Linked DNA regions of Homo sapiens: region 2 is linked to region 1. The links are contacts of gene promoters, found by promoter capture Hi-C in human tissues and cell types (Jung and others, 2019). All regions are on one chromosome and are shown on one strand. The core of a region is centred on a gene start or on the middle of the fragment in contact, and the rest is flanking DNA. Distances in the headings are between cores, read along the strand shown. Region 1 holds the start of BARHL2 (BarH like homeobox 2). Region 2 has its middle 22 kb from the start of SNORD3G.

Region 1 (2,917 bases), core at 199-2,698:
CAAAAAAGAGATTAATCCAATTTCATAAGATTTTATTTTTATAAATACTACCTCCTAAGTACTTGTAAGGGGCCAAAAATCTTTGTAGGATACAGATACTCAGTTGAGGCCATAGGGTAAGAAGGGTGCTTTTAAGAAACTTATTACAAATTTTTACGGGCTAACCACAATCTAATTTTTTTAAAGTTGCTCTGTTCATGAACTCAGAAATTTTTCCTCCATTAAAACCGATAATTCCTGTGATGATGTTAAGAAAATAAAGTGGGGGGGGGGTGAAATCACTTGTACTAAAGAATAAACACCAGGTTGTGATCACACCCACGCTAGCTAAGTGGTTTCTCTCTCCTACCTCCCCCCATTCCCATTCCCAAAGTCTAGGCTAGAAAAACCCCAAGTCCATCCCTTTTATCAACGAAAAGTATTTCCTGTCGGATGCCCTCCGCCGCCCCTCAACCCCCAGTAGATTAAAATTAAATAAAACAAAGGAAGGAGCTGGATGGCCGTGAAGGTTGTGGGGTAGAACAATAAACAGAACTTCGAGGAGTCCCCACATCGCACGCCCAGGCCTCCCTTCAGCTGCAGTCTTTTGACCGTCGCCCAGTCGCCCGAGAAGCTCCTGGAATCGCTCCCCAGCAGAGATCTGCTGAAGGCTGAAGGGGAGATTGGGAACCAGGAGGACAAGCTAGACGGCCGAGAGCGCCGGGTGGCGGGACTCACCGTGGCATTTGATGTCGCTCTGGGAATCCTCCCGCTTGTCGAGTTTGGTCTTGCTGTCCTCCTGCTCGAGCTTTGGCCTGAAGCTCTCGTGCACTGCGTTGCTCTCCTGCTTCGGGGTGTGGTGGGGAGAGGATACGCTGGTGCTGTAGGGTGCACATGCCGCCAGAGGTTTGCTGTCGCCCAAGATGTCCTTAATTAAAAAAGAAGACGTGGAAGTCCTGGGGGCCGAGGCGGCCGAGCCCAGCTGCTGGGGGGGCGGCGGCGGCGGCTGCTGTGGCGGCAGCGGCTGCTGCTGTTGGGGCAAAGGCTGCAAACTTTGCGTCGGGGCCGCGGCCGGCGGCGGCGGCTGCTGGCTGTGGTGGAGGTGGTGATGATGCTGGGTCGCGTCTGCTACCAGATGCGGCTCCGGGGGCTCCATGGTGACTGAGATAGGAGAAGAAGGCGCCGTCCCTACGGTATCAATCTCCGAACAGGGAGATGGGGTGGCCTGACTCCTAAAATCCGCGGTCCTGGCCTCACCGAGCGGGCGGAAATCTCCATTCATCATGCCTGGGCTGCCTGAACTGGCACTGGACAAAATCGTGTCTATTCCAAAACTCGACCCGCTGGCCCCTTCCATTGTCATTGCTACATGAGGTCCACGCCACTCCGCCGTTCAGCAGCCGCCCCGAACCAGCGAAGAAAGCTATCGATCGTAAAACAAAATAAACACCAAACAATGTTGCCGCCGCTTAAAAAAAAAAAAGTGGGGCGGGGAGAGAAGGAAGGGTAATTGGGAAGTGGCAATCTGTGGATACTTTCGACACAACTTTTTTTCTTTTATGCAAAAAGTAGGGGTGGAAAGAAAAAAGATGCGGGGGGCGGGGGGAGTTAAAAAAATTTCTGAGAAAACTCGGAACTTGCGCTCCAGGAACGACTGCGCACGTGGCGCGGCGGTGGCGGCGCGGAGGACCCAGGCGAAGGCGAAGGCGAAGGCGAAGGCGCAGGCGAAGGCGAAGGCGCAGGCGGCGGGAAGCTACGCCAAAGCCGCCGCCGCCGCCGCTGCCGGGGTCTGCCCACAGCCTGGCACCGGGCGGCAGCGGTGGCGGCGGCGGACGCGGCAGGTGCAGCGACCGCGAAGCCCGGGCGGCCGCGCGCCCTCGGAACTCCCCCGCGGCTCCCGAGGTGGCAGCCGCGCGCCACTCGGCAGCCCCGTAGCCGAGTTTCTGAACTTTCTTGGAAAGTTGCGGGGCAGACACGGCCGCAGCGGTTGCGGCAACCCGAGGAGGAGGAGGAAGAGGAGGACGACGAGAAGGAGCAGGCACAGAAGGAGGAAGCGGCGGAGACGCGATGCCGGGCGACTCCGGCCGCTGCCGGGCGCGTTCGCTTGTAATCCGGCTGCTGGCGGGCGGCGCCGACCCCCTCCCGTGACGTCACGGCCACTACCGCCGCTCCCCGCGCCGCGCCGCGCCGGGCCCGCGCCCCCGCCACCGAGGCCGCGCGTCCGGCCCCGCGCCCCTATTGGCCGCGCCCGCGCGAGCGAGGGACGCCGACGTGCCAGGGAGCCAATAGGCGCAGCGCTCGTGAGCCCGTCAGCGGACTCGGCTCGGACTCCGCTGCTCTTTTGAGAACCCGCACATCCCTGAGCCCGCAGCCCTGAGCCGAACTCCGAGTCCAGTGGTCCCGGTGTCCACAATCACGAGTGCGAGGCAAAGGGAGAGGGAGGAAGAGATCAGAGGGAGACCAGAGAAAGGGAACCAAAGGGGAGAAAGAAAAAAAAAAGTAGCAAGGATTCGCCCGTTTTCTTAAGTCAGAAGAGAGAGAGAAGAGGACGGGAAGGGACTTACCTTTAGGCTCCAGCGCGGCGGCCCTCGCAGCCTCCCCAAACGCGCGCGGGAATAGTCCGAAGACATTAAGAGCGGAGGAAGGAGATCCCTGAAGGAATCCACAGAAAAGTGTGTCACTTCAGGCGCCGGAGCCTTGCATAAGCGGGCGGGTCGGCTCTGGGCTCTGATTTCTCGCCCGACGAACCCAGGCGCTCGGGCTCAGCCCGGCGGGAGGCGGATCCCTGAGAGGGACACAGCCGGGTCCGCGTCCACCAGGCGCTCTCGGGGAGGACGAGGCCTGAGGCTCCAAGCTGGGGAACCAGCCTGGTCTCCAGCTGGAAAAAATGCCTGGCCAGACGCTTTCTCCCGAACGGGGGAGCTAATGCCCGAGGCGT
Region 2 (2,917 bases), core at 276-2,775, 37 kb before region 1:
GAAATAAGCAAGAATATCCAGTCTCACCACTTCTATTCAATATTGTTCTGGAAGTCTTAACAGGCACAATAAGATAAGATAAAGAAATAAAAGACTTTTAAATTAGAAAACAAGAAATAAAACTATCCCTATTCAAGATAACATGTGTATCTACATGGAAAATCACAAGGAACAAGGGACCCCAACCCCCAGGGCCACTAACTGGTACCATCCATGGCCTGTTAAGAACTGGGCTCTATAGCAGGAGGTGAGCATCTGCAAGGGAAAATTACTGCCTGAGCTCTGCCTCCTGTCAGATCTGCGGTGGCATTAGATTCTCATAGGAGCAGGAACCCTATTGTGAACTGCGCACACCAGGGATCTGGGTTGCAAGCTCCTTATGAAAATCTAACTAATGCCTAATGATCTGAGATAGAACAGTTTCATCCAGAAACCATCCCCCGACCCCCATCCATGAAAAAATTGTCTTCCAGGAAACCACTCCCTGGTACCAAAACAGTTGGGGACTGCTACTGAGGAATCTACCAAATGCTCTTAAAGCAACAAGTACATTCACAAAATCACAGAATACAAGGTCAACATACAAAAATCAATCATTTTTCTATATACTAGCAATGAACAACTGAAAACTGAAATTTTTAAAAAGTACCATTTACAATCGCCCCCTAAAAAATAAAACATACACAGATCTATACGCTGAAAACTATGAAATACTCAGAAAGAAGGCCTAAGTAAATAGAAAGGCACTCCATTTCCATAGATTAGAATATTCAACATAAATAAGATGTCAATTTTCCCCAAAGTAATCTAGATTTAACACAATAGCAATTAAAATCCCAGAGAGATATTTTGCAGATATAGATAAGCCTGTTCTAAAATTTGTATGGAAAAGTAAAGGAACTACAACAGTTAAAACAATTTTGAAAAAGAATGAACCAAGCTGGATAACTCAACATTACCCAACAGTAAAATGTATGATAAAACTATATCAATCAAGACTGGTAAAAGATGAAAGGACAGACACATAGATCAATGCAACATTACAAAAAGTTCACAAATACATCCACATAATTATGGTTGGTTGATTTTTAATAAAGGTGCAAAGGAAATTCAATGGAGAAAGGGTGATCTTTTCAACAAACGATACTTAGAACAACTGCATATCATATGCAAAAAATTGAACTTCAGCCTTAACCTAATACCACACACAAATGTTAGCTCAAAATGTGTCAGAGACTTAAGTGTAAAATAGAAAAATATGAAACTCAGAAAAGAAATGTAGATAAACATCTTCATGACCTTGGGTTAATCAAAGAGTCTTTTGATAAGACACCAAGTGATCAATCCGTTATAAAAGAATAATTAATAAATTGGACTTCATCAAAATGAAAATATATTGTTCTATGAAGAAAATCATAAAGAGAATGAGAAGACAAATCATAGATTGGAGAAAAAATATTTGTAAATCTCATACCTGATAAAGGATTTGTTTCCAGAATACACTTTAAAAACTCACAAAACTCAGCAATAAGAAAACAATCAACTTCATTTTTAAAATGGGAAAAAGATATGAAGACAAAAATGAATGTCTAATAAACACATGAAAAGAAATATGATATCATTAGGCATTATGGAAACACAATTAAAAACCACAATGATATACCATTATGCACTTACTAGAATGGCTAAAAAAAAAACAAAAAACAATACCAAGTGCTGACAAGGACACAGAGCAACTGGCACTCTCATACATTCCTGATAGGAATGCAGTATGGTACAGCCACTTTGGAAAACAGCCTGGCAGTTTCTTATCAAATTAAACCTACGCTTACCATATGATCCAACAATCCCACATCCATCTGTTTTACTCAGCTATTTTTAGGGTATTCATCCTAGAGAAATGAAAACTTATGTTCACACAAAAACCTGTACATGGATGTTTAGAGCAGTATGTTTGCCACAAGTAGAAACCTGCCAAAGAAAGCTGTCCTGCCTAGGGCTCTCTCTCCTCCATGGGGAAGGTCTGCATCCAGTGACTAACCAATGTGGGGGTATAGCCTTGGCCTCCTTGCTTTAAGACAGACAATTTTTCACAGGCATCCCAGTTTCAGGACTCTAGGTAAGATCAGTTGAAATGTCTATTGTGACTGAATCATAGTTCAACTTTTCCTTTAACCCTATTATTCTTCCCTCACCATTCACAGGTATGTCTCCCAAAACACCCACCAAAAAAACTTCCACACACAAATCTCAGAGTCTCAGAGACTGTTTCATGAGAAACCCAATTTGTGACATGGTAAAATTAAGTTTACCTCAAGTAAGGGAAAGATGAGAATACGATTTGGGACAAGAATAAGAAAAAGTTAAGCTAATATTGGTGTTATTTTTATAACTGTTTTAAATGTATGCATGTCTTCAGCAGACACTCTGATATATGTTATAGTAATTCAAGCCATACATCTCTGACAGTTATGTAGTAATTCCAAAAAATTCATAAAATATGTAGGTAATAATCTGGCCTAGAGGAAAGGCGGGAAACTTTAAATATTGAAACACCAGGTGAAACAGTCTATTGTACTCAGCTATTTTTTTCTCTGAAAGTCACTTGTAAAAAATATATATATATATATAAATATATATATATTTAAAGTTTAGGCCAGACTTAGTGGTTCACACCTGTAATCCCAACACTTTGGGAGGTCGTGGCAGGAGGATCACTTGAGCCCAGGAGTTCAAGATCAGCCTGGCCAACATAGTGAGACTCCTACCTTTACAAAAAATAAAATAAAATAAATAAGCCAGACATGGTGGTGCATGCCTGTAGTCCCAGCCACTCAGAAGGCTGAGGGGGGTGCACCTCTTGAGCCCAGGTGATTGAGGCTGCAGTGAGTTGTGATCACACCACTGCACTCCAGCC

What was found. The method cuts DNA at HindIII sites, captures the fragments that hold promoters and counts their contacts. A contact is called where the count stands out against the background at its distance.
Region 2: a fragment that was not itself captured here is called in contact with the fragment with the promoter of BARHL2 in region 1 in 1 of the 25 tissues and cell types used here (neural progenitor cells).

Annotation. Positions count from the first base shown.
Region 1 is chr1:90,715,854-90,718,770 of GRCh38, forward strand. BARHL2 (BarH like homeobox 2) reads right to left here and starts at 1,449. Exons shown (of 3, transcript NM_020063.2): 1 at 718-1,449. The coding sequence starts at 1,342. The HindIII fragment of the contact is 10,681 bases long and covers 1-2,917 here.
Region 2 is chr1:90,678,482-90,681,398 of GRCh38, forward strand. No RefSeq gene overlaps it. Among named protein-coding and RNA genes, the nearest start is that of SNORD3G, 22 kb to the left of the region's middle. The HindIII fragment of the contact is 8,683 bases long and covers 1-2,917 here.